Linked DNA regions of Homo sapiens: regions 1, 2, 3, 5, 6 and 7 are each linked to region 4. The links are contacts of gene promoters, found by promoter capture Hi-C in blood cells and fetal thymus (Javierre and others, 2016). All regions are on one chromosome and are shown on one strand. Each heading gives the region's core, a stretch centred on a gene start or on the middle of the fragment in contact. The rest is flanking DNA. Distances are from core to core; before and after follow the strand shown. Region 1 overlaps ROR1 (receptor tyrosine kinase like orphan receptor 1). Region 2 overlaps ROR1 (receptor tyrosine kinase like orphan receptor 1). Region 3 overlaps UBE2U (ubiquitin conjugating enzyme E2 U). Region 4 holds the start of ROR1 (receptor tyrosine kinase like orphan receptor 1). Region 5 overlaps ROR1 (receptor tyrosine kinase like orphan receptor 1). Region 6 has its middle 4.9 kb from the start of UBE2U. Region 7 overlaps UBE2U (ubiquitin conjugating enzyme E2 U).

Region 1 (4,022 bases), core at 57-2,556, 360 kb before region 4:
TTTTGGCTTAAATTTTACTTGGGTTGTAAAATTAACCCAACTTTTATTGGGTAACTAATACCATAAACCTATGGGGAGAAAGAAGGTTCTTGATGACCCACACTTGGATCTTGGAAACCTAAGTACAGAGACCAGAATACACCCCCATGCCACCCCCCTGCTATTACAGATGATGCTTTTCTATCCCTAGGCATTAGCAGAGCCCTGGATTTTTAAGGTGTCATTATGAGAACACTTCTTTCTCCCCCACATTAAACTCTCAAGGCTTCAATTTATATCTCTTGGGAGGACAAAACCCTGGAATTACCCCCAGATATAAATCCCCAACCTACTGGGAGTTCCCATATTTTATGTGTGAGGCTTAGGCTAAACTTCTTACCACCTTTCCAGTTCAAGACTCTTAAAAAGACTCTTTGAATACTTTTTTTCAGAATAAAATGGAATGCAATTCCTTGGCTGCACATTTCTTATCAAAGGCTTAGAACTGCAGGTGTATTAAATTTTTGACTATTCCCAGAATTCCTACTATCCTGTTCAGTCTCCTGGGAGACAGATTTTTTAAAAAAGAACACAAAAAAACCCCAAAACCAGTATGTACTGTTATCTGCTGGGGAGTGGTTCTGTCTTGGCTCCTTATGAGAATCGCCTTGGCAGCACACTGGGAGGCCGAGACGGGTGGATCATCTGAGGTCAGGAGTTCAAGACCAGCCTAGTCAACATGGTGAAACCCCATCTCTACTAAAAATACAAAAATTAGTTGGGTGTGGTGGCAGGTGCCTGTAATCCCAGCTAGTCAGGGGGCTGAGGTAGGAGAATCACTTGAACCCAGGAGGTGGAGGTTGCAGTGAGCCAAGATCATGCCACTTCACTCCAGCCTGGGTGACAGAGTGAGACTCCATCTCAAAAAAAAAAAAAAAAAAGAATGAAAGAATCTCCTTGAGAAGCTTTAGGAAATACGAATGCCCAGGCCCCACCTTAGACCTATTAAATCATAGTCTCTGGGGATGAGGCTTAGGTATCTATGCTTAAAGAAACCTATCAGGTGATTTGAATGTGGTTGAGAACCACAACACTGAAAAAAACCAAACATGTATTAAGTGTCTGCTGCTCTGGGCTGGGTACTGTGTTAGGTGCTTTCTTCAAAGCAGCCCCTGATGAGCTATTATCCTTATTTTACGAGAGAGAAACTCAAATTCAGAGAAGTTAAGTAACTTGCTCAAATTCACAAAGTCAGTCTGTGGTGGAGCTAGGATTTAAACTGAAACTCAAGATGAGGCCACTATCCCATGTTGTTAGATCTGTAACTATGTTCTGCGTTTCAATACTACTCTTAGTTAAATCAGCCTACTCGAGAAAGAGACCTTATAACGAGTCTTGATTCTGTATCAGATACTGCTAAGTTTTATATACTTACAAAACAGATACTAAGTCATTTTATCCCAACAACAATCTTATAAAAAAAGGTAAAGATGTAATTATTCCTGTTCTACAGATGAGAAAAGTGAGACTCAGAAAGCATAGAGAACTTATCCAAAGTTACGCAGCAAGTAGAAGAGCTAGATTTGCTCTAAATAGTGTTTCTAACCACACTCTATAACTTCTTTCCAAGTGGCTTGGCAATGGAGTTTTTGCACTGCTTAGAGGGGCTTTCTGCTGTGGAGAAGCTTTGGTGCATTCTGGGTGGTAAAAGGTTTTCTTTTAAACATAAAGTCAAAAACACATTTCTTTCTTTTCCATTTTTCCCCACTGGCTTTGGCTGGAGGGGAACAAATGCTCCTCCAGCATTAATCAGCTTTATGCTTTTTTCCAGCTCACACTTCTTTCATCATTGATGTCTTCCTGCCTTACTCCATGCTCAGCAAATTAAAAACATGAAGCAAGTGGCAAGGTAGCAAAAGTGCAAGGGCACTTGCAGTGAGCGTGCCCAAGGCTGCATTCAATGGAGAAGAAAAGTGCATTGTGAAAGGGCAAATGGAATTTGGCCATTCATCACAGTGGCTGGCACCAGCGTGCGCCGCTGCCTCACCATGATGTCAAGGTGCAGGGGTGCTTTGTGATGGGAGCTCATGTTTCTCATAAAGGTAATTGAGTTACCATGTTGCCAGCCTCTACAACCTGCCATATTCTCTGCCATGGGATTGGGAAACGCAAATGTGGTCTGTAATCCACCTCCAGGGTCTCCTCCTTCTCCAGGGCAAGGAGCTTATGAAGGATATTTGAAGAGTGCTAAGAGGGATCGTGGAACAGTGCGGCAGCAAAAGGAGTGCCCATCTAGGAACCACTGCAGAGCAAGGAAAGGAAATGCTGTTCTGCAGAGACTTCATAATCTAGTTCTTGCCAGTTTTTCCAGCTTCCTTCCCTGCCAGACAAGCCTACAAGCCTGATGGTATTAGTCATGTGGATGATCTTGCTAGTCTCAAACCACAGGATGCACTTCGATGCGGACATGGCTTGACCCATGCTCATCCTTAGGGCTGGCATGCCCTCCACCCCCTCGTTCTCCTTGTGAATGTTCTCATCTTTCAGACCCAAATGCCCCTACCTTCCCTGGAAAGTTAGTCACTCACTAACCCCACCCATTCCCAGTACTTTCATCAAACCATTCCACAGATTTCCAGTTTCATATACTATTTTATCTGTTTAGCGCCCACCTTACCACTGACAGGCCAATAGAACTAGAAGAGATGAGGAGACTATCCCAGGGTAGCCCACCAAAGTGGACCCTTCTCCATACCAGGAGTATCCTCTAATTGGAAGCGATTTTCTTCCTCATCAGAATATACAGGGCATGGGCAGACATAGCTGAACCGATCGGTACTGACAAATTTGGTCCTAAAATATTCTTTTTGGGGATAATTTCAGTTAAAATGCCTATCTCTCTCTCTTTTTTTTTTTTTTTTTTTTTTTTGAGATGGAGTCTCGCTCCCATTGCGCAGGCTGGAGTGCAGTGGCGCGATCTCAGCTCACTGAAACCTCCACCTCCTGGGTTCAAGCGATTCTCCTTCCTCAGCCTCCTGAGTAGCTGGGATTAGAGGCGTGTGCTACCATGCCTGGCTAATTTTTGTATTTTTAGTAGAGACAGGGTTTCACCATGTTGGCCAGGCTGGTCTTGAACTCCTGACCTCAGATGATCCACCTGCCTTGGCTTCCCAAAGTGCTAGGATTACAGGTGTGAGCCACCACGCCGGGTCTCCTACCTCTTCTTAATGAGAAGAGAATGGATGCAGAGGGACTTTCCTGACTGTAAAATCTCACTTAAACCAAAGAATTGAAAACAGGTACTCAAACACACACTTGTACACAAATGTGCAGAGCAGCACTATTCACAATAGTCCAAAGGTGGGAACAACTCAGGTGTTCATCAACAGATGAATGGATAGACAAAAGGTGGTAGATACATACAATAGACTATATTATTCAGCCATGAAAAATGAATGAGGTACTGAAACAGGTTACGATGTGGGAGAGCCTCAAAAACATGCTAAGTGAAATAAGCTGAACAAAAAGGGCACATATTGTATGATCCCATTTATATGAAATATTTAAAATAGGTAAGTCTTTAGAGAAAAGCAGATCGGTGGTTGCTAGGGGCTGGGGACAGGGAGGAATAAGAAGTAACTGCTTAGCGGGCAAGGAATTTTATTTTGGGATGATGAAAATGTTTTGGAAGTAGACAGATGTGGCGGTTATACAACATTATGAATATACTAACTACTATTGACTTATTCATTTTAATATGGTTAATTCTGGCTGGGTGCAGTGGCTCATGCCTATAATCCCCGCACTTTAGGAGATCAAGGTTGGGAGGATTGCTTGAGGCCTGGAGTTCAAGACCAGCCCGGACAACATAGTGAGACTCTGTGTCTACAAAATTAAAAATGAAAAAATTAGCAGGGCATGGTGGCACACACATGTAGTCCTATCTATTCAGGGGGCTGAGGCAGGAGGATTGCTTGAGTCCAGGAGTTTGAGGCTGTAGTTAGCCATGATCACATCACTGCACTCCAGCCTGGGTGACAGAG
Region 2 (4,115 bases), core at 31-2,530, 410 kb before region 4:
GCTGTTTCTTTGCTCTGGGAACCACACTTTGAGAAGTACTGGGATAGGTAATCATCTTAGAAGATGTGTGGATAAAAGAGCTCCTCTTTATTCAGTATTGTAGTAGGCATTATGGGAAGGTGATGCTAGGAGTTTGCAGATGTTGGTGATTAGGGAATTAAGGGAATCTCAGAGTTGAAGGGATTGGGGATGGCAGGAGGGTCAAGAGCTGGGAGATAAAAGAAGGAAATGGGGGTAAAAGGCAGGCTGAGGAATTCAAGTGAGAGGGAGAAACCCAGCCTGACACGGATCTCACTGCCATGTGAAGGGATTGCTTTATTGAGTTTGATTGTTGAGGTGGTGACAAGAGCTGTACCTAAAACAGATGGATAAGGCCCTAAAGGTTTTATTGTATTCCTTTCTGTGTTAAATAGCAGATATGGACAACTTCTTTGAACTTTCATTATGGTACTCATTTTCCTTGACCATGTGTATTAATTGCCAGATGAGGAACTCTTTCTTTTGGGCAAATAAGGTCATAAAGATAAGTTGTGACAATTAAATGGCCCCATTTATTTTATCAGTATGTTTGGAAGCTAAGTTGGGCATGATAAGATGTACACAGCCTCTTCTTCTTTAGAGTCCAAAGAGGTGACTTTTGATATCTAAGATTATATGGAAATATTAAGGCAGAAAATGATGCAACTATATTCTTAAAATCAAATATTTTTTATATTCCATTGGTTGTAACTATTCAATATATTATTTTGATTTTAAAAATTCAAAGCTTGCCATATATAGGTGGATAGTATTCAGTTATGAAATCATTAGGATTCCCCTCTCCACCTATGGTTGCTAGCAAAATAATGCCCAAGTCTGTTTTAAAAGCCTACTGAAAAAAAAAAATTTAATGAAATAACAGCAAATAGGAATTGTGATTCCTCTTTCTATAAAATGTAAATGTTAAAATCCCCAAATACCTCTATGACAGCAATATTCAGGAAATAATATTTTATAGTAAACATTTTTAATAAACAGCAGCATAAAATAATCAGTGTTTAATATCATCTCTGGTGTGTGAAATACAAATGCATATATCCTTAATATAAAATAGCCTTTTTGTCATTACAATTCAATGCTTGCCTATTTGAAATGCCCATAATAACAAATCAAACATTAAGTAATACAGTGATTAAATGCATGCAGTGAAAATAAGGAAAGATATGGTAAGGTGAGATATCTGAAAATTGCCATTATATATTTGAAGAAAATCTATATCAAGTTAAAAACAAAGGAAACAAGAAAAACAGACCAGATATAAAAATGCAAAGATATATTTTCACTTCTGTGACACAAACCATAAGCATAGTTTTGTGCAAAAAAGGAGAAAAAGATCTGAAAATAAAGTCATCTTACAAAACATTGTCAACAAAGGAAAAGATATTTTTCAGCTTGTGAAAAAAATACTATTTTAATACAAAAGAGACTGTGTTATATAGTATCACAGTGCGATTATAAAATACATTATTACAAGTGGTTTTGAAATTTCATTTGCTCACTTTAATGTTTTCAGTTATTATAAAATGTTTAAAATAAATGTTATAGTTCTTTATAAAAAACTAACTTGAATTTACTTTTTAACCATAATAATGTTTTACCAGAGTAGGTATTTTACTGGCTCATGGAATGCTAATTTCCCTTTAAGGGACTCCTAGAAAAACTCAAGATTCACTGAAATTGTGTACTTAAAATAATAAATATTCTTGGAAAACAATTGATTGTCATATGATATACAAAATTGTGGTTTGAAGCTTCATCATTAAACAGTTGCATAGCAACAAAAGGATACAAATATTCTCCTCTACCTAAAGTTAAGAAATGTAACTTCTGAATCAGCTTATTTATGCCACAAAAATATGTTTTAATTTATCTCCCAGAAATCTGGATATAACCAATTCTTCTAGTTCACAGTACCTATAAGTTCATGTTTGTTATTTGAAGACTCAGGTTTGGGAAAATTGCAATGCATTTTGGTAAACATATTTTCTTGATTTCTCATGCTAGTTGTATTTTTTAAAAATGAAAACATCAATGTGTTTTTCATTCTCTTACATTCTCCTCATCAAATATCATTTCCAGGAATTACTTTTATATCCCGTAAGTCTCTTTAGAAGTCTCTTATACCTTTAAAGTAAAAATGAGACTTTGAGACATTGTTCTTAGAATAAAGGAGTTTTTTTTTAACAAGAGAAAAATCAAAAGTAAAATTACTTTCTATATAGAACTTGAAACGCATAAGAATTCTAAACTTGGCAAAAGATGGTCGGCAGGTAAATGCCATGAGCTGCACATTTGAAACCTCCCACTAAGGCAAAAATGGTCATGTTACTTCGGTTTGCTAGTTTAAAGAATTCAGTTCTTGGTAACTTTTGAAATGAGAACTCAGTACTTGTTTTTTAGGAAGACCATCATATTTTGCAAAATAGAATTAATTGCCTTTGGATTCCAACTGACTGTATGAATACATTGTTGTAATTCTTGGGGCGGGAATCAAATCTGTGAACATTTCCAGCACAGAAAAAAAGGGAAAGAAACTTTAAAATTACTAGACATTTGTATCATGATGGAGTTTCCTACTTCCCTAGAGCCCATTGACCATAAGCACTCCAATGCCTCGGACAACTTGTAAACAGGGAGTTGCAAGGGGTGGGCGTGCTCATCTGTAGCCACACACTTATTTTTCAGTGTTACTGGTTCCAGAAAACTCCTATGGGGGCTGTCCCCATGGGAACCCTTTTTCCTTTCCCACAGATGCTGATCTAGGCTGTGGGGCCATTTTCCTGGCTGTGCTTCCTTTGGCGCCTCATTCCTAATCCAGCAAAGAGAACTATCAACCAACAATCAATTCTAGCATCCACATCTAGCCTTCTTATGGTCTGATGCGCTGTGTTATTCCAAGGGCAGTGTAAACACACTGTGAGAAACTGTGGGAAAGACCCTCATGATCAGAGGAGGATTCACAAAAAGGCACACTCTACACCTTCCCAAAGAAGCACAACGACATAAAAGGCTTCAGGGCTTGTTATACTTCCCTTATGGCTCATTTCCCTCCAGGGTTTCAAATTTGGCCTGAAGTTTCTTCATGGATTCTGAACATCATTTCCATAAGAACATGCACAGAGTCTAAATTCAATCAATATAATTCCTGAACATCTGTCCTGAAGAAAAGACAGCAGGTAGACAAATGCTATGGTATATATACATCTGGGGGAGAGACCAGTCATGGTGACTGAAGGCTAAAACACAAAGCACCATTTGACTTTTGGTTTTATATTTAATCACAAGGTTCTTTTCCTCTTCACTGGTTTGCAGCTTTCAGTGCTCGAAACCACATGTTCCAATCCCAATGCCATGTCATGCACTCCAATGGAGTGCACATCCCACAATGTTTTTGTTTGCTTGTTTTTTTTTTTTTTTTTTTTTTCTGGCCGAGTGTCTGTCCTGCTTGGTAAGACACAGTGAAACTTCACAGAAGGTACTTGTTGCGATGTCTGCTAAATGAGAACCTTACTTTAATAAAAACATTTGAATATAAATCTTTTCTACGGCCGTCTAGTTTGTCCTGTATACCACATTTACAAAAGTTGTGCATTTTACAGTTCTGCAGAAATCATAGATTCGGTGTGTCCATGAATATTGGCGTCTCCTAGTAAAGATGCTTGCTTTGAGTCAATTTTGTAGGGTTTTTGAGATTTGTTGCCAAAAACGGTGATACCCATTCCACCAGGATGATTTGGAATTGACATGTGTGGTAGTAAAGGAATATTTGCTTCCTGATTGGATCCTGATGAGGGCAAGCTAGTCACATGGCCAGTGCTAGTCGACCCACTGGCACTGCTTGGGGACCGACTCTTGGGAGGTGGGCAGTGCTGAATCACTCTGGGAGGACCTGTTGGCTGGTAGTGGGCAGCTGGAAACGCTGCATATCCAGGAGGTATTGGGTATCCATTGATGGGAATGAATCGCTGGTTCTGAGGTATTGGCGGGCCAATGAAACCAGCAATCTGGCCCTGTGGTGTAATACCCTGGCTCGGGAACATGTAATTAGGATATCTGGGGTTACTGAGATTACTCAC
Region 3 (3,893 bases), core at 310-2,809, 480 kb before region 4:
ATGCTGGCTTTTTGAGTTTTCAGCATTTTTGTATTGACTTTTTCTCATCTTTATGGGCTCATCTACCTTTAATCTTTGAGGTTGCTGACCTTTGAATGAGGTTTTTGTGGGGTCTTTGTTGTTGTTGTTGTTTTCTGTTTGTTTGTTTTTCTTTTAACAGGTAGGCCACTGACTGTTAGCAAATGTAGGGCTGCTATGGTTTGCTGGGGGTCCACTCCAGAACCTAGTTGCCTCTGCTTTTCCTGTACTTGGAAGTATCACCAGTGCGGGCTGCAAAACAGCAAAGATGGCAGCCTGTTCCTTTCTCTGGAAGCTCCATCCTAGAGGGATACTGACCTATTGCTGTCCCAAACACTCCTGTAGGAGGTGACTGGAGACCCCTATTGGAAGGTCTCTCCCAGTCAGGAGGAACAGGATCAAGGACCCACTTATAGAAGCCATCTGGCTGCTTTTTAGTAGAGAAGATGTGCTGCATTGAGGGGGACCCTTCCTCGTCCAGACCACCTGGCCTCTCCAGAGCCAGCAGGCTGGAACAACTGAGTCAACTGAACCACAGAGATGGTGGCCACCCCTCCCCTCAGGAGCTCCATCCCAGGGTGAGATCAGAGTTCTGTCCATATAAGCCTGGCTAGAGTGACTGAAGGCCCCCTACAGGAGGTAGTGAAAAGGAATGGACTGGGATCTCGCTTAAAGAAGCAGTCTGGGCACAGTCTGGCAAAGCAGGTGTGTTGTGTTGGTGGGGAGACCCCTCCTCGTCTGGAATGCCTGGACTCTCCAGAGCTGGCAGGCTGGAATGCTGAGTCAACAGAACTGCAGAAATGGTGACCACATTTTCCCCCAGGAACTCCCTTCTGTCTTAAGCAGACTCAGCCTATTGCTGCTGGTTGGCTGGAGCTCCAAGCTAGCGGGCCCCAACTTGTGAGGTGCTGTGAAAGTGGGACCCTCAGGATGGTGCTGCTTGGCTCTCTGGATTCAGCCCCCTTCCTAGGGGAATGTATGGGTGGATCTGGTGCCTCACTGGAGGATTTTAGGACCAGATTATGTAAAACACCTGAGTCTCTGCTAAGATTACACACAGCTCTGTATATTGGACCCAAGGCCCTGGTAGCAGGGGCTCATGAGGGGATCTCCTGATCCACGAGTTGCAAAGATCCGTGGGAGAAGCATGGTTTCCTGGGCAGGGTCACACACTCACTCACTGCCTCCCTTGTCTTGGGGTGGGGATTTTGTTGGCGTCATGCTGCTCCTGGGTGGGCTCTCACCTCACCCTGCTTTTCTTTGCTCTCCATGGGTTGAACTGATTGCCTAGTCAGTCCCAATGTGAGAACCTGGATACTTCACTTGAACATGCCAAATTCACTCCCTGTTCTGAGTTTTCTCTTTTTTAAATCAGAAATGGATACAGAATTTCTTTTCATCTATTGAGAGGATCATATAGTTCTTCTTTCTTATACTAATTTACATTATTCGAAATTTTCAAATGTTAAACCAATGTTACATTTCTAGTATAAACTCCATATAGTCATGATGAATTATCATAATTATTTACAATTATTTATCATAATTAATCCTGACCAAGTATAGTTTATATCAGGAATGTAACCTTGATTTAACATTCAAAAAAACTAACACATTTTAAAACTATATTATATATGTTATATATATATTTAGATTAAATATACTAAAATTTTTGCATCTGTGTCTGTGAGGCATATTTATCTGTAGTTTTCTTTTTTTGGGGGGGCGGGGAAGGATTCCCTATTTATTGATTTATTTATTTTTTATTATACTTTAAGTTTTAGGGTACATGTGCACAACCTGCAGGTTGGTTACATATGTATACATGTGCCATGTTGGTGTGCTGCACCCATTAACTCGTCATTTAACATTAGGTGTATCTCCTAATGCTATACCTCCCCCCTCCCCCCACCCCACGACAGGCCTTGGTGTGTGATGTTCCCCTTCCTGTGTCCATGTGTTCTCATTGTTCAATTCCCACCTATGAGTGAGAACATATGGTGTTTGGTTTTTTGTCCTTGCAATAGTTTGCTGAGAATGATGGTTTCCAGCTTCATCCATGTCCCTACAAAGGACATGAACTCATCATTTTTTATGGCTGCATAGTATTCCATGGTGTATATGTGCCACATTTTCTTAATCCAGTCTATCATTGTTGGACATTTGGCTTGGTTCCAAGTCTTGGCTATTGTGAATAGTGCCACACTAAACATATGTGTGCATGTGTCTTTATAGCAGCATGATTTATAATCCTTTGGGTATATACCCGGTAATGGGATGGCTGGGCCAAATGGTATTTCCAGTTCTTGATTTGTAGTTTTCGTATACTGTCTTTGGTTTTGTTATTGAGGTAATGCTGACCCTGTAACGTGCTGGGAAGTGTTTCCTTCTTTTTTCTGAGTTTGTGTATATTCATGTTTTCCTTAAATGTGTGGGAAAATTCTCCAGTGAAGCCATCTGGGTTTAAAGTTGTCTTTGTGTGAAGGCTTTTAACTATAAATTCCTTTATTAGATACAGGATTACTCAGGTTGTTCATTTCTTTTTAAGTGAGGCTTGGTAGATGTTGCCTTTCAAGAAATGTGTTCATTTCAACTATGTGGTTGGATTTATTGGTCAAAAAACGTTTTTATTTTACCTTCATTTTAGAGAGAGCTTTTCACTGGTTATAAAATTCTATGTTTAATAATTTCTTTCAAGCACTCTGAAGTTGTCATTTATTATATTTTGACTTGCAAGGCTTCTGACATGAAGTTTTTGGCTATTCTTATCGTTGCTCCTTTATGTGTAACATGTGGGGTTTCTTTTTCTCCTTTGCTACTTTTAAGATTTTTCTCTTCATTTCTGAGTTTCAACAATTTGATTATGATGTGCTTTGGTATGGCTTCTTTATATTTCTGTTTCTTGGGATTCATTGAACTTCTTGGTCTGTGAATTTGCAGACTTCATCAAATTGGGAAAATTTTCAGTCATAATTATTTCTTCAAATATTTTTTCTCTCCCTTCCTCTGGAACACCATTTATATGTATCTTCTACCACTTGATATTGTCCCACAGCTCACTGAGGCTCTTTCGTTTCTTTTCAGTCTTTTTTTCTATCTTTTTTTAAAGAGATTATATTGCTACACTTTCAAGTTCATGGGTCATTTCTTCTGCAGTGTCTAACTTGCTGTTCTTCCCATTAAGTATATATATTTTTAAATATTTGATTTATTTTTATCTCTAGATATTCCACTGGTATATCTTCCATTTCTTTCATCATATTCATGTTTTTCTTTAGATAATTCAGTATATTTTATAAGATGTATAGTAGCTGCTTTAAAGTCTGTATCTGTTAATTCTATCCTCTCTATCACTTATGGATCTATTTGTATTGATGTAATTTCTTTTGGTTGTGGGTCATATTTTTCTGCTTATTTGTATGACTGGTGATTTTTTTTTTTTTTTTTTTTTGAGACAGAGTCTCACTCTGTCACCCAGGCTGGAGTGCAATGGCATGATCTCGGCTCACTGCAACCTCCGCCTCCCAGGTTCAAGCGATTCTCCTGCTTCAGCCTCCTGAGTAGCTAGGATTACAGGTGCCCACCACTGCGCCTGGCTAATTTTTTGTATTTTTAATAGAGACAGGGTTTTGCCATGTTGGCCAGGCTGGTTTCAAACTCCTGACCTCAGGTGATCTGTCCGCCTTGTCCTCCCAAAGTGCTGGGATAACTAACAGGCGTGAGCCACCGCGCCTGGCTGACTGGTGATTTTTCAATGGGTTGCTGGACATTGTAAATTTTAGGTTATTAGGTGCTAAATTTTGTTATGTTTCTTTAAATCTGATTGTTCTTCATTCTGGCTCACAGTTCAGTTTTTTGTGAAAATCAGTTTGATA
Region 4 (4,070 bases), core at 998-3,497:
AAATCAATGCAGGGACATGTATTTAAAGGTAAGTGACCCCCACCCCCACAAGGGGCTATGATCTAAAAGCAACTATTGTTGAAAGGTGAAGTACAAAGTAAAGGAGTCCACAGGGGAAATAACTGAATTAACCAAAGCCCCAAGCCAGGAGTCCCACCTTAGTTAAAATCACCCTGCTTATCTCCACCTCAATTTGCTGGGCAACCCAACTTGAGAAGGATGTTTACATTACTTAGGCAGCATGGCCCATTTTTACTTTTCACCCAGGTGTTGTGGCGCAAGGCCAGATGTTTGGCATCACCAAGCAAAACATCTATGTGACCAAGCTGTTTACATTTCATTAGGATTTTTCATCAGGAAGGTGCACTCCCTGCTGATGCACATCTTAATTACAATTAGGAGCTCTATTTACCCCCAGGAGCTTTCAGATTAGCACGACCACATTATAGGATCCGTTTCAGAAATCATCCTCAGAAAATGCTACTCTAGCTTCCAAAAACCATCTCTAAGAAATCAAAATTTCACACAACTTCCTTCCAGAGTGTGTTTTCTACCAAGAAAGTCAGCTAACTTTTAGTAAAAACTAATTCTGCATTCGTAGTCTATGTAGTGAATACATCTTTTTCCTCTCAACTGCTAAGTAGCGCAGAACTTTTTCTTTTCCTAAACACAGTGCTAACTTAAAAATGAAAGATGCATGATAAAAGAGCAGAGATCTATTTATCCGCTCAGGTTTAGGGCTGGGAGTGGGGGAGGGCAGAATCCAAAGGCTCCTCACCCCCTCAAGGGATGCATGTTAAAAGTGAGGCCCGAGACCCCGGAGACTTTAATCAACTTTCCCCCTCCAACCTCCAAAGAATGAATCGGTTGTCTCCACAGGCTCAGCCGGGCTCTTCCCTCTCATTGTGTACCGGCTCAGACGCAGCAAGGACCCCAGCTTCCCGCAGCGAACTAAGACGCTCCGGCTTGCGGTGAAGTCTTTCTCTAACTGTTGCGATTGTCTTTAGAGATTACCAAAATCAAATATGCATTAGATGGCTTTTCCCCCTCTTGTTTGTAACACGCACACACACACGCGCGCGCGCGCGCGTGCACACCCAAAGCACTTTGGAGCCGCAGGCCGCCTCTGACAGCACATTTTGCACAAAGTGGCAGCGGCTGCAGCGGCGCACAAGTTTTGGCCTCTATGATGACTCTCGGGAGGGCCGGAGGGCCGGGGGCGGTGGCGATGCGAGGCCGCCGGAGCCCCAGGAGGACAGGGCTTTTGTTTGCGTCGATCCGCGAGCCGCCTGGGCTCTGGCGAGCACCACTGAAAATCCAAACTCCCTCCTGGACCGCGCCTTCCGGGCCGGCTCGCAACTTGGGGGCAGGATAGACTTGCCTGAACACCGGCTGGGGCGCGCTAGAGGTCCAGGGAGACAAGGGGGGACGCCCTGCACAGAAGTGCCCCGATCACCCCCAGGACCCTCAAACCCCTCCACGCTTCCTGTCAGCGCTGACAATCGCTGCTGCGCACCGAGGAACGAGTCCCTGGGCGCGCCCCGGCCCGCCGCGGGGCTCCGGGGCAAACCCTGGCCTGGCGGGGCTCCGGGGCAAACCCTGGCCTGGCGGCGCCGGCGAGCCCCGTGGCGGGTGGCCGGACGCGCCCCGGAGCCAGCGCGGCGCTTCCTGCGTGTCCCGCGCCCGGCTGGACGGCGGAAGGGTGGCCACGGGTCAGGGGGTCTGGGCGGGCGGGGGCCGGCGGGCGCCTCTTACCTTGGGCAGCAGCCCCGCGTGCGGCCAGCAGCAGCGCGGCCAGCAGCGCCAGGAGCGGCGGGCGCGTCCCGCGGCGGCGCGGCCGGTGCATTCCTCCTCTCGCTGAGGCGGCGGCGGCGGCGGCTCCCAGGCCGCGCGCAGAACATCCACGGGCTCTTCCCGGGCTCCCGGCCGCCTCGTCCCGGCCGCTGGCGCTCGCAGGACGCCGGGGACGTCTGCAAAGCTCTTTGTCCCTCTAACCTGCTCCCTCGCCTCCGCCTGGCCGCCTCTGGATGCCGCGAGCGCGATCCCTTCCCAGCCCTCTGGCTGCAGCCTCGCCTGGGCCGGCGGGTCAGTCCCAGGCTGTCCGGGTCGCACCAGTGGGCGTGAGTCGCCCTGGGTCGGACTCCGAGAACAGCGCACCCTGCGCCCAGGGGCTGCCGTCCCGGGGCTCCCTCGGCGGCGGCGGTGGCGGCTGCTCCAGCTCTCCACGCTCCCTCTCTCGCTCAACTTGTCACTTTCCACCAACTCTCCAGCCCAGCGCCCCAGCCCCGACCAATGGGAGACGCGGCCCAGGCTGGCGACCCAGCGCCCTCTGCTGCAGCCTCTCAACGCCCGCACCCTCCCCGACTTCGCAGAAAGCGGTCGCGGCTCCCGCGTCTCGGGCACGCTCCCTCCCCTCCCCTCCCCCACACTCCTCAAACTCGCCACCGAACCGAGCGCCGGGGACCTTCGAGGCTACTTGACAGAAGGGGAAACCGAGGCTCAGAGAGACTTATCCGGGATCTCAAGCCAGTTCGTGGCTGGACGACAGTAGACCCAGGTTCTAGCAGCCTCAGCTGTGTCACTGTTAGCTGTGTGACTCTGGGTAATGGCACATTTATTGCTATCATACAATTTCCCTTTTGCTTTCTTCTTGGACCCAAGAGTTGAGAGAGTTCTTACACAAGTAATTTATACTTCGCCTTTTTGTCTTTAATTTGTAGTCTCACTGAATTCAATGTCATCTGTACTGCCTCCTGGCAAGATTTATTGAGGATTATCTGTGGTTATTTTTGCCAATGTCCCATGGTTTTTTGAAAGGTGTTTTTGTCTTCCGAATGTGAAGATAGAATACTGTATCGATTTATCTTCTTTGTATTCATTATTTTTTCAGGCCTTCTGAATCTTTGCATGTTTGTTTGTTTGTTTGTTTTTTGTCTAGCTGCTCTGCCATGAGCCAAGGGATCATTAAAGACCTCTACAATGAGTGTGTTTTTGTCCATTTCTCCTGGTTTAACTTTATGGATTTTGTAATTCATAAATACCCATAATGATTTGACTTTCCCTGTAGAGACTGCCTTTGATCATAAAAAGTGGTGAGCGCCTGCTGTTTTCAGGGCTGTGCTCTAGGCTCTGAAGATGCAAGGGTAATAGGACACCTGTCAGTCTTGCTCTGGAGGAACAGGAAGAAGCCCATAGTCTCTCAATAATCACGTGGCCACTTACTAAATACCTCCTGTTTGCCTTGTGTTTTATATGCATTTGCTCACAAATCCTCCATTGACACTAAAAAGAGTCATTAAAAGTATATACTTCTTAGCTGTTTTACATATATTATCCCCATATTACAGTTTTAGAAATTGAAACTCAAAGGGAAAGTAAATGACTTGCCCACAGTCTCACAGACATGGGGTAGCCAAGCCAGCACTCAGGCTGTTTCCACTGAGAGAGTTAAAGCCTGTAACCAGAGCCTGGCACATGATAAGCACTCACTCGGGAGTTGTTGCTGTTGCAGTAGCCTCTAAGAACCCAGCTTTAGGGTTTTAAAATGAACAGTCACTTCATGGAGGGCGAGGACTCTGTCTCAATCATCTAGGTATCTTGCTGGCCTCTAACAGTACCTGGAATGCAATAGGAGCTCAATTAATGAACAAAGGTTAGGTCACCATTTGGAAAATATTAATTTCTCATCATATTTGTTTTATAGGGGTGCATGGAGGAGGGACAAAATTTCATCCATACTCCTTGGCACCAGGAAAAGCAGATCCCTGAGAGCTGAGACATTAGAAGGGGGAAAAAATGCAGCCCAAAGTATGTCCCAGCAGGTCATGGACTCCAGACTCCCAGCCCTTTGCCTTCAGGCAGGTGAATGACTAACCCATGCGGGACAAACAGTCACTTATTCTTCTCCAGGACTTCATGGCAGGAGCTGTGTCGGTAGTTTTCCCCCTTTCTATCGCTCTGACCTGAGGTCAAAAAATGATAGACAGAGAGGCCTTGGGTCAACCAGTTCATTACCTACATTGATCTGTCCCCCAAGTTTCTCTGCCTGAGATCTATTCAATCCTGTCCCA
Region 5 (3,606 bases), core at 170-2,669, 380 kb before region 4:
CCAAAGTGCTGGGATTACAGAAAATCCCTGCTTTATACACTGTTACAGGTAAATATATAACCCAGGCATCACTGGAGGCCGTCGTAGTCAGTGCTGGTTGCACCAGTAATGATTGTGTCTACATGCCTATAGATAGACAGAAAGGAATCACCTGAGTAGAAGACGGTCTGCCACAGGGCACCAAGTCAGAAACCTCTGAATAATGCCTTTTCATTATCTACGTGACCTTCAGTAGGCCCTTTGCCACTCCAAGCAAACTCATCTGTAAAATGGGAGTAATACCTACTTCACAGAATTGCTGTAAGCAACAAATCTATTCTAGTACCAGTTACCACTCAATGTTTACCCTTTACCCTTAGACTAGAGGGGGATTCACAGGTAAAAGTTTTGGGCTAGATAATCTTAAGCAAGAAACAATCTCTCTGATCTCCATTTCCTCATTTATTCAATGGAATAAATACGATTGGTAGAGCAGGAATAATAGTCCCTGCTCTACCAATCTTATTTGGTTCACCTGAGAATCAAATGAGATAATGTTCATGAAAGAACCTTGGATAATTGAAAATTGCCATACAGTTGTTGGATGTTATGGTTATTATTAACATTATAAACCATTTTCATATTTCTCAGTACCCTAGGGGGGTAAAGTCTCTGTTGTTATTCTTGGTTTTTCAGTGAAATCATTTTGAGGGTAATGATTACAAAAGCGATGAGGCTAATTTAGTACTAACGCAATGCTAGTCATTTTTCCAGGCCAGATTTTTAGCAACAAGAGAAAGTAGGGCCTCACCTGCCTGGCAAACAAAGGAGTCTATTCTGTATTCATGCCCTATCAGATTATTCATGGAAGGTCTTCTATTGTAAACGAGGGTCTGGGACAAATCCCCCTGTAGGTCTGCAGGAGAACAAACTTCAAGAAGCTGAATCCTTTAAACAGTCAAGCTTGGCTCCTTCTGATTACACTGAGGATATGCTAACAAGCACAAGGGGCCCAGTGTCTTTTTGCCAAGTGAAATAATCAAGGAGAACAATACATGGTCATGTTGGAAGTGACAGAAACACATTCAGGCCCATTGTAAGTCTTCCATACAAAGTGCTTCCTTCCCTACACAGCTCTCTGCATTTGGCCAGAAGGGGATTCAGTCTCTGCTGGCTCTGAAAATCTTCTATAAAAATATTCCATAGAACAATGAGCCTTCCAAATGAAAAATTAGAAAACTAATATCTGCCTAGGTTCTTTTTGAAGTCCGAGCATTTGTATTCCTCATTTTAACCCGGAAGGCACATTGGTGTTATCTTGACTTTACACACAGAGAAATTAAGACCGAGAAAGGAAAAATAACTTGTCAAAGCTACAAAGTAGCAAAGTCTGGGTTGGAATGCAAGCCTGTCTACCTTCAGTGCTTCTAGTAAATTATATTACTAATCAAAATTACCCTAAAACATTATATATATAATTGTTTTTCATCATTCTCCTTAAGAGTCCGAAGTTCTCTTTCAATGAAGACTAATATCTGGTGGGAATCATACTATTTTAAGAAAATCACTTTGGAACAATGGACATTATTCTTACTAGTCATTTTAAAGGGTAATGGACACCTCCAATGCATTACAGAGAAAATCGGCTGGAAATTAGAATGTTGAAGATTTTTAATACTTTGGAATAACTGTTTAAAAGTGAAATGCACATATTAGTTACATCAAGTTAAATACTTGAGATTTTTGAAACCAACCACTTAGTCCAGATCACATGATTAATTTCCTTTTAAAAATCAAACAATTTGGTATCACAGTTCACATCTGACATTCCTATTTTATTTTTACAATGATATTCAATACTTTGATTAGTAATTAAATATAATGGAGAAAATACTCCTTTCTTTCCCTGAAGCTTAAAGCAAAGTAATCATGATTTCTTATTAAAGAGGTACTTTTAATAAAGTGAAACATCATCTGGGATATTACTTTGAGTTAAAACAAGAAAAGGCTCTGGTTTTAAATATGGCAAAGGTGGGAAGAAATCTTACAGAACCTTAGAATTCAAGGGAAATTAAACAAGTTTAAATTATAACCTTGACTGAAAAAAATTTAAAAACCATAGAAAACAAACAGGAATCACTACCAATTTATTACTTGAAAACTATAAAATAAGCAGGTTGGTAGCACATAGGGGCCTGCACCAGTGATTTAGGCATATGCCTGGAAGGCGAGAGAGAGAGGTAATTAGGCCTTCAGTTGGCAGGCTGGGCCCAGGCATTCACTCTCTTGACTTGATGATGGAAATACTAAGTAGATGATCTATTGCCTTATGTATTCTCAAATGAATTCTTTAAAAAAAAATGCTGAATAGGCCATATACATTGATTAAAATTTTCCCTGCAGAAAAGGTTTTAACTACAATAAGTTAGGGAGAGCAACTCATTTGTGAGCATTTGGGAAAAATCTTAGTAACTGGAATCCACACAAGTTCACTAAAAGTTTCTGTAAACTCTCAGGGCCTCAGTTTCCTCCTCTATAAAAGAATTGGGCTAATCTTTTTTAATAATTAAAAAATGTTTAATTGTAAAAAATACCGTAAAATTTACCATCTTAACCATTTTTAATTTTACATTTCAATAATGTTACATATATTTATTCTTGTTGTGCAACCAATCTCCAGAACTTTTTCATGCTGCAAAACTAAAACTCTATGCCCATTGAATAACTCCCCATTTCCCCCCTTCCCCCAGCCCTGACAACCACCATGGTACTTTCTGTTTCTGATTTTGACTATTTTAGGTACTGCATATAAGTGGATCATTCAGTATCTATCTTTCTGTGACTGGTGTATTTTACTTAGTCTAATGTCCTCTAGGTTCATGATGCTGTACCATGTGACAGGATTTCCTTCTTTTTATGACTGAATAATATTCCATTGTTTGCATATACCATGTTTTCTTTATCCATTCATCCACTGATGGACATTTGGGTTGCTTCTGCCTTAAACGGCTATCATGAATAATGCTGCAGTGAACATGGGTGTACAAATATTTTGAGACCCCGACTTCAATTCTTTTGGATTAAATACTCAGAAATGGGATTGCTGCATCAGATGGTAATTCTATTTTTAATTTTTTTTAGGAACTTCCATTCTGTTTTCCATAGCAGCTGCACCATTTTACATTCCTATCAACAGATCACAATGGTTCCAATTTCTTCACACTTGCTATTTTTTTAATAGTGCATTCTAATGGGTGTGAAATGGTATCTCACTGGAGTTTTGATTTGCATTTCTCTAATTATTAGTGATATTGAACATCTTTTCATATGCTTTTGGCCATTTGTATATCTTCTTTGGAGGAATGTCTATTCAAGTCCTTTGCCCACTTTTTAATCGGGCCAATCTTTAACTGACAAAATTCTATAGGTTGTATAAAATTAAATCTCTTTCATTTTGATGAGATTATTAGTGACAGACTAAGCACATTTAAACTTTAGCAAAACATTTGATCAAATGACTCAAGTGACTTATGACATTCTTATGGACAAGATGAAAGGTTGAATAATAATATCATCAGATGTATTTGTAATTCATCATCTGCCTTTATTTAATAGTGTTAATCAGTC
Region 6 (4,222 bases), core at 780-3,279, 420 kb before region 4:
ACTCCAGCCTGGGCACCATTGAGCACTGAGTGAACGAGACTCCGTCTGCAATCCCGGCACCTCGGGAGGCCGAGGCTGGCGGATCACTCGCGGTTAGGAGCTGGAGACCAGCCCGGCCAACACAGCGAAACCCCGTCTCCACCAAAAAAATACGAAAACCAGTCAGGCGTGGCGGCGCGCGCCTGCAATCGCAGGCACTCGGCAGGCTGAGGCAGGAGAATCAGGCAGGGAGGTTGCAGTGAGCCGAGATGGCAGCAGTACAGTCCAGCTTTGGCTTGGCATCAGAGGGAGACCGTGGAAGGAGACCGTGGAGAGAGGGAGAGGGAGAGGGAGAGGGAGAGGGAGAGGGAGAGGGAGAGGGAGAGGGAGAGCATGCTCTGATTTATATTTACTTGATTACTCTGGCTGCTCTACGAAGAATGAATTGTTGGGGGGGACCACTTGGAAGGATCCCACAGTAAATTTCACCTCCAGGTATGGTAGCTTAGAAATCACCAACAACATATTCACTGTACTAAAATGCTGACACAATAAAATGCTATTATTCTATGTTTCCTAAAACTAAATAGAAAGGATTTTTTTCCTGTGAAAACATCAACAGGATCTGGGATTGAATATTTTGGCCCTTCTTTCCAGCCCATCAGATTTCAACATGGGCTTGCATAGGATTGGAAATATCAGGTGAAAGTGAGTAAAGGGCTACTTCAGTGAGAAGGGAATAGGCCCAATTTGGAGATCGTAACTAGGTTTGTCCATATCACTGTGGTCCCACAATCCTTTCTCCCACCCTAATGGATTATTGTGATAATGAATTCAGAATCTTTTGTATTTAAAAAATATATTTATTTATTTATCATGGAAAACATGATATTTTGAAATATGTATATGTTATGGAACGGCTAAATTGAGCTAATTAACATAAGCATTACCTCATATGTTGAGGAAACCTAAAATCTATTCTTATCTATTTTCAAAGATACAACATATTTTTATTAACTGTAGTCATCATGTCATACAATAAGAATCCTCCATCTTTTGTTTAGAATTTCATTCTAGGGAAAATTTTGTTAAAGTAAAAGAAAGATAAAAGTAAGTAAGGTAAAAGAAAATTAAGGTAAAGAAAAACATTTTTTGTTGTGAATTTTTAGAAGATGGCATTTATATGATACTTTAGCACAATGAAAATCAAGTTGGAAGATATTCATATGACTCCCCCCACAACAAACCTATATTACTAGCTTTGACCTCTTCTTGGGACTTCTGACTAGTATACCTACTAATTTATATCCAAATGCCTGGTTGTCACCCAGCTGTCTTGTCCCAAACACATTTCAAACTCAAATGTCCAAAAATCAACTCATTACTGTTTCTCTCAACCAAGCTTCTGTCCCAGTTGGAAATTTGAAGTCATCTCTGACTCCTCCTCGTCCTCATGACTCCTCCTCTTCCTCATGACTCACAAGACATGCTGTTGTCTTAGCTTCTTCTCAAGCCTTACCAATAATGCTCAATTTCATAACCTTGTCATCTCTTGCCTAGATACAGAACATCTTTGTATTGTACTCCCTGACTCCAGACTTGCTTGTCATGAAACGTGATAGTAATGTATTTAAACTAACATGTGATCATGAAATTCTCTACTTAAAATACTTTGAGGGATTCCCCTTCATCCCAACGTATCCCATCTTCAACATGTGGATTTACTTCCAGGGATGTAGGTGGGATGGCTGAAATCACAGGCAACTTTATATGTGTCCGTCTCTACATTTGTATGTGTATGCAAATGAACTTTTTTTTTTTACTTGATAAACCACACACTACAGAATTAAATCTAAGTTTCTTAACATGGAAAGCAGAGCATTCCATAATATTTTCCTATTTATGCCTACTTTTATTGACACTCACTCTGCTTCATACTTGAGGTACCCGCTCCATTAAACTGCATTATCTTTTTCCTGTATGTACCCATCTTGCCTAGGCTCATCATCTTTTCTCCCTGACCTTTCTTCCTCTTTTTAAATCTAATTAAAAACTGTTAGCACATCCTGAAAGAGATAAATGCCTCCTTGGAGCCATCCTGAACTGCCAGAATGGGTTGTGTTCTCATTTGACCTGGGTTCACCTTTGTATATTATCACCACATTATTTTGAAACTATTTGTTTATGGGGTTTTCTCACTCACTAGAATATAATTTCTTAAGGCCATGGAGACCTGTTTATTCATCGCTGCATTCCCAGCACCAAGCACCTGGCTCAGAGGTGGTATCAGTATATTCTGATTGAATTGAACTTAGCAGAATAGAAAGTTTTGGGGCCAGGAGAGTGACCTTCCATGAAAGAACTAGGCATAAGCAAAGGAAGAGGGTTGCAGAGATGTGAAAAGCTGGGTGATGTAGAGAAGCTCAGCCAGCTCCATGACACATAGGAGGCTAAAGTCTGAAGGACAGTGACAGAGTAGACAATGAATCAGAAGCACCCCTGAGAGCAAGAGCCACCAGAGCAGAAGGGGCTGCAGAGCTTCAGCCAAGGCACCTTTTATAAGCAAAATCCCCAGGACGCCAAAAAGGAAGGGAAAGACACTTATAAAGGTCCCACACCCGGAGGGGCTGAGGAGACAAACAGGTTAAGGTTTCCAGAAATATTTTGGGAATGAATTTTTTGAGAAATAAAAAGCTTCCTGCCAATGTGAGGGTTTGGTACTGTTGTGTTTGGAGATGCTAACTAAACAAGATCACAGATATACTCACTGGCTGGCCAGCATCTTGTATTTTTTCTATCTTTTTGTTTTTTAGAGAGTTTTCCTCTGTTGCTTAGGCTGGAGTGCCTTGGCGCAGTCATAGCATATCTTATCCTGTGCATGCATGTGTGCGTGTGTGCATGTGTGCGTGTGTGTGTGTGTGTGTGTGTGTGTGTGTGTACCTAGCATCTAGCATCTGTGTAGCAACTGGATAGGTTTGCCTCCTACAATTAATATTATAGCAGCAGGAGCTGAAAACTAATAGCATCAGCTGTTCAGCCATCTGAGTCACTCAAAATTGGAAATTTATAAGGAGAGGCCCATCTGAAAATATTTTCTCTGCATGGGATCACCTTCCATTTATTACAACAAATGTCAGTTTTAGTAAACTTTTCACATACATGATATTATTGCTGTCATAATCTTCTTGTCACTTCTCACTCCTGAGCGTTGTCTTTCTCTGCCTTGTTCATCAGCTTTGTTGTGTTTGGTTGTGAGTTAGACAAACCAACTCAACTGGGAAAATAAATCCCCATCTTCAGTTCTTCCACTGCGTTAATTTATTAGTAAGTCTGTTGATAAATAGAATGTGCCTTCAAGGCAGACCTGGGTTCTGTTCTGTGTCTTATTAACCCGTAAAGATAGTCTTGAAGAAGTTACTTAGCTTCCCTGTGCCTACAATGTTCTCACCTGTAATTTGCGGCCAATAGTAATACTTACTTTGCAGGATCATTATGAGGATTAAAAGATATAATCCCTGCCAATGACTCAGTCACACCTGGCATAGAGTAAGTAATAGCCAACACCTGCACTTTCCGTGTGCTGAGCATGCTGTTCTAAGTGCTCTATGGGAATTAATTTCATCCTCACTAATAACTCTGTACAGTAGGTACTCTTAAGATTCTAATTTACAGATGAGGAAAACCAAGGCACAGAGACACTGGATGATTTGCCCAAGGTTGCACAGCTGGAATGCAACAGAGCCAGGATGCAAACCTGAGTCCATACTTTTAGCCACTAAGCTACTCTGCCTCACAAGTATCTCATGTTCTACTAAGTGAGCTCTCCGGCCTTCAGTAAATTATTGCTACTCTCAATAGTTGTGAGAATATTTTTGTCCGGCTGTTATTTTTGTTTTTGTTAACTATTGTGGCTGCATTTCTACCTGCTGTTAAAACGTAAACCCAAGAAAGCCAGACCACTGCTGTATAAAATAGTGCCCATCCGTGGCTGGCCTTCTCCCAGGCTGGCTGGACCCCAGGGCCTGGCCCTGCCTGAGCCTCCTGTGCCAATACTGTGACTTAGAAACAATGTTAGTGCTGGGCAGCTCTACGTCCCTCCCCGTGCTGCCTGTGCCAGCCCCAGGCTGCTGGCAAGCAGAGGCCAGACCAGGGCCAGTCTGGGTACCCTGCCCCTCAGCTGGCCCTGCCCAGCCACCCAGCCACCCTGGATATGGCTCTGTCCCTCTGCCACACCCCAGGCCCT
Region 7 (3,655 bases), core at 992-3,491, 460 kb before region 4:
CTCTGGACCACAGCCTACCGAATTAATTGAGAACACACTTATTGAGAACTTATTGTTCACTTATTGAGAACTCACTATATGCTGGGCACTGTTTTAAGTGCTTCAACCCTATAAAGTATGTGCTGTGATTATTCTTATTTTATGGATGAGAAAACTGGGACACAGAGAGGTTAAGAAACTTAACCAAAGTCACACAGCCAGTAAATGGCAGACCCAGGATGAAACTCTGGTAAATCTGACTCCAGGATGTACATTCTTTACCAACATATGATATTCTCCCTCACATGTGTAACCTTAGGTAAATTACTTAGCTTTTCTGTCTTAGTTTTCTCATCTTCAAACAAAGTAATAATAATAATAATGCCTGGCACGTAGGGTTGATATACCACCGTGCACGACATATATTAGGTGCTTAATAATGTTGGTTGAATAATTGAATAAAAGAATGATAGATTGAGATGGCTAAAAATATATAGGAGCATACTTCATAAACTGCATTATACAAGAATAAACTTACTATTATGATGATGCCAACGACTATGTATAGATTTGTGGCACAAGATAGGGAAAAGAGTTAATACCCCAAATCAAAATTTAACTACTTACCACTACTCATAAAAGATAAAGCTCTTAAAAATATGCACAAGAGTTTAATAATCTTTCTAATGCTAAGAATGTAACTGTAGAAAATGAAGTTATTAGAAGTTTCTCTTTTATTTCTGAGTTGTTGAAGAAGCATTCTATAATCTAAAAGCTTCATCTTTATTATTGCCAGGAAATTAGGCCATTAAAAAAAGATAGTGTTGGATCTCATCCAGCTGAACTATCAAAAGATAAAATGGCCAGCAGCACATGTAAAGTTTACATTTAATTTTTTTAAATTAAGTGCTGGTTATTATTCAAGGAAACTCTTGAAACATTCTTATAACAATTCCCTAGAAGAAGAAGAGGCAGGGTGATTGTGAAATCATGCACCAAGTGCTAGATTCAAAGTCTCAGAAATTCATCTGGGCTAGAGATAACAATGGCCAGTTATTACCTTTACAAACAGGGATGAATCACATACTAGGTTAGTGAAAGATGTAGAAACAACAAAATTAAACATTTTGGGGCCAAACTCTTTTTGAAGAAGAAACTGTGGTCAGTGGTGCCTTATTATTTCCTTCCATTTTTTAATTATTCTTTATTGCAAGACAATTATTCCCAAATCTCCTTAAGTTTTGGCACATGCTTCTATTTTTTTTTCCTCTAGCAGTTTGGAGTTTCCAAGTGGCCCTATATATTTACATGTTATTCTAGAAAGCACCCTCCTGTAACAATCTGTTTTTTGGTGGAAGGAGTTTGACTCTGAGTGGTTCCCTAGAGTGTGCCAATTAATGTCTCTCAACACAGTGTTTGTGTAATTAAGGGTTATTGCCCCTGCAGCCTATATGAGCTGCTCAGTGCCTCATACATAGTAGGTACACACAGCAGATGTGTTTGCTGAATTGACTAGGCAGCACTCAACAACAAATCTTTGACCTGAATTAACCATTCAGGTACTCTGGTATCAAAAATAATCAATATTTTATACTGATAGAGCTGCTAAAGATTGTATATCTTGATGTACCTTAAATTGTTTTGACCTATGAGTGAGGATGGTGATATATAATCACAAAATAATTAATAGCCAACCTCCTGAAAGAACATGTGATTTCTTAAAAGTTATTGATCTAATTTACCTTTTAAGGATATTTATTAAGCTTAGTACTATTTTTTGCCCTCATTTGTACCTTAAAACTTGATACTATTTTTCACTATAGGAAACTATCATAATGATGAGATGAAATATAAAGAGACTTCAAATTAAGGCAATGGTCATGGGGGTGTAGTAGAGTGGAAGCATTCATAATGTTGCAGCAGATAAAAATCAACAAGGCTTAATGAGAGAGATAAAGAGATGTAGGAAACATCTAAGATTCTGGCTTTGGTAAGAAAATGTAAAATTAGTGATCTACCACTAACCAAGAGAGGGAATAAAGGAAGAAAGATAGATTTGGGGGCAAGATGATGAATTCACTTTGAGATATCTTGAATATGAGATGCCTATAATACACATAGGTGAGATGTCCCCTGCACAGTTATAAATATGCATGGAAAATTCAGAAGAGGGATCTGGCTAGAGATGCAGCTTTAGGAATCGCTGGACTGTAAGCAAATGAAAACCATGGTAGTGGAAGAGGTCTTTCAGAGAGAGTAAGTAGAGAGGACTGAATGAAGAAGATATTGCCAAGGGAAGAGGCAGCAGTGTGCTTAGGAAGGGAGATGAAAAGCCATGGATGTATGGTATCATGTAAATCAAGGAGAGCACAGCTAATGGGAGTGCAAGTAAGAAGAGGACTAAAACGTAATCACTGCATCTGGGAATTCAGAAGTCTCTGCTACTGCAGAATGCACCATTTTAGAAGGATGGCTGAAGCAAAGTCGTATTTCAGTAAGTGTATGCAGACTGGACAACCTACTTTCATCCAGATAATGAAATAGTACTCTAAAGATCCAGTTAAATGGAACCGGAAAGTTGTCCAGCTCTCTCAATCTGTCTTTTTAGCTCCTGATGTATGATGGTAACAGATGATTTTTCCTTTTAGATTGATATAATTGAACAGCCCTATGTTCTTATGTTTTCTTGTTGAATTTCTACCTAATATTTCTTGTGGCTTAGAGGAGAAATAAAAAGGTTCTCTCTGGTGTGAAAGCTTTTCTCTGGGGTAAAGGAAGTAAAGTAAACCTCATAAGATTGGGAACTTTTCTGTTATTCCTCCAATTGACTATCTTTCTTTCTGGCTTTTAATCAGACTTCAGTCCAGGGCTCTATACAAAAGAACTTTGTATTCTTCTTTGAGAGGCTGAGGCGGGAGGATTGCTTTAGGCCAGGAGTTCCAAACCAGCCTGGACAACATAGTGAGACCCCATCTCTAAAAAGTAAAAATAAGGCCGGGTGTGGTGGCTCACGCCTGTAATCCCAGCACTTTGGGAGGCTGAGGCAGGCGGATCACGAGGTCAGGAGATCAAGACCATCCTGGCTAACACACTGAAACCCCGTCTCTATTAAAAATACAAAAAATTAGCTGGGCGTGGTGGCAGACACCTGTAGTCCCAGCTACTCGAGAGGCTGAGGCAGGAGAATGGCGTGAACCTGGGAGGCGGAGCTTGTAGTGAGCTGAGATTGCGTCACTGCACTCCAGCCTGGGCAACAGAGCCAGACTCCATCTCGAAAAAAAAAAAAAGTAAAAATAAAAAATTAGCCATGCATAGTGGCTTTTGCCTATAATCCTAGCTACTCAGGAGGCTGAAGCAGGAAGATCGCTTGAGTTCAGGAGTTTGAGGCTGCAGTTAGCTATTATTGTGCCACTGCACTCCAGCCTGGATGACAGAGTTAGACTCTGTCTCCAAGACAAAAAGTTAAAATTATTTTTTTTTGAAAAAAAGAACTAAAGTAATAGTTGTTGAATGAATAGTATATAGAGCCTACAGAGAAGTTTATCACTCTTACATAGCAGATGTGTGTCAATTAGTCTTTGAAACCAAGATAAATGTTAACAGATTAACATATACCAAAAGGACATAGGATAAGGATAGTTCACCTTACATGGAGTTCTGTAGTATTCTGTGGCTT

What was found. The method cuts DNA at HindIII sites, captures the fragments that hold promoters and counts their contacts. A CHiCAGO score of 5 or more calls a contact.
Region 1: a contact is called between a fragment that was not itself captured here and the fragment with the promoter of ROR1 in region 4, in 8 of 17 cell types (endothelial precursors, megakaryocytes, M0 macrophages and 5 more). The highest score is 14.5, in endothelial precursors.
Region 2: a contact is called between a fragment that was not itself captured here and the fragment with the promoter of ROR1 in region 4, in 1 of 17 cell types (endothelial precursors). The highest score is 5.1, in endothelial precursors.
Region 3: a contact is called between a fragment that was not itself captured here and the fragment with the promoter of ROR1 in region 4, in 3 of 17 cell types (M2 macrophages, M1 macrophages and megakaryocytes). The highest score is 6.8, in M2 macrophages.
Region 5: a contact is called between a fragment that was not itself captured here and the fragment with the promoter of ROR1 in region 4, in 3 of 17 cell types (endothelial precursors, erythroblasts and M0 macrophages). The highest score is 7.8, in endothelial precursors.
Region 6: a fragment that was not itself captured here is called in contact with the fragment with the promoter of ROR1 in region 4 in 1 of 17 cell types (M0 macrophages); the score reaches 5.5 in M0 macrophages.
Region 7: a contact is called between a fragment that was not itself captured here and the fragment with the promoter of ROR1 in region 4, in 6 of 17 cell types (endothelial precursors, M1 macrophages, megakaryocytes and 3 more). The highest score is 10.1, in endothelial precursors.

Annotation. Positions count from the first base shown.
Region 1 is chr1:64,131,647-64,135,668 of GRCh38, reverse strand. All of the region lies in intron 4 of ROR1 (receptor tyrosine kinase like orphan receptor 1), which reads right to left. Among named protein-coding and RNA genes, the nearest start is that of ROR1-AS1, 21 kb to the right of the region's middle. The HindIII fragment of the contact is 720 bases long and covers 947-1,666 here.
Region 2 is chr1:64,178,373-64,182,487 of GRCh38, reverse strand. ROR1 (receptor tyrosine kinase like orphan receptor 1) reads right to left here. Exons shown (of 9, transcript NM_005012.4): 9 at 990-4,115. The coding sequence ends at 3,633. Among named protein-coding and RNA genes, the nearest start is that of UBE2U, 23 kb to the left of the region's middle. The HindIII fragment of the contact is 1,024 bases long and covers 769-1,792 here.
Region 3 is chr1:64,248,954-64,252,846 of GRCh38, reverse strand. All of the region lies in intron 8 of UBE2U (ubiquitin conjugating enzyme E2 U), which reads right to left. Among named protein-coding and RNA genes, the nearest start is that of UBE2U, 47 kb to the right of the region's middle. The HindIII fragment of the contact is 9,203 bases long and covers 1-3,893 here.
Region 4 is chr1:63,772,194-63,776,263 of GRCh38, reverse strand. ROR1 (receptor tyrosine kinase like orphan receptor 1) reads right to left here and starts at 2,247. Exons shown (of 9, transcript NM_005012.4): 1 at 1,756-2,247. The coding sequence starts at 1,846. RefSeq lists an enhancer at 623-1,186 and silencers at 1,052-1,346, 2,131-2,180. The HindIII fragment of the contact is 6,004 bases long and covers 1-4,070 here.
Region 5 is chr1:64,152,863-64,156,468 of GRCh38, reverse strand. The region is part of intron 7 of ROR1 (receptor tyrosine kinase like orphan receptor 1); the gene reads right to left. Among named protein-coding and RNA genes, the nearest start is that of ROR1-AS1, 42 kb to the right of the region's middle. RefSeq lists an enhancer at 738-1,288. The HindIII fragment of the contact is 949 bases long and covers 945-1,893 here.
Region 6 is chr1:64,196,568-64,200,789 of GRCh38, reverse strand. No RefSeq gene overlaps it. Among named protein-coding and RNA genes, the nearest start is that of UBE2U, 4.9 kb to the left of the region's middle. RefSeq lists an enhancer at 3,734-4,222. The HindIII fragment of the contact is 1,292 bases long and covers 1,384-2,675 here.
Region 7 is chr1:64,232,623-64,236,277 of GRCh38, reverse strand. UBE2U (ubiquitin conjugating enzyme E2 U) reads right to left here. Exons shown (of 10, transcript NM_001366232.2): 7 at 3,629-3,655. Among named protein-coding and RNA genes, the nearest start is that of UBE2U, 31 kb to the right of the region's middle. The HindIII fragment of the contact is 993 bases long and covers 1,745-2,737 here.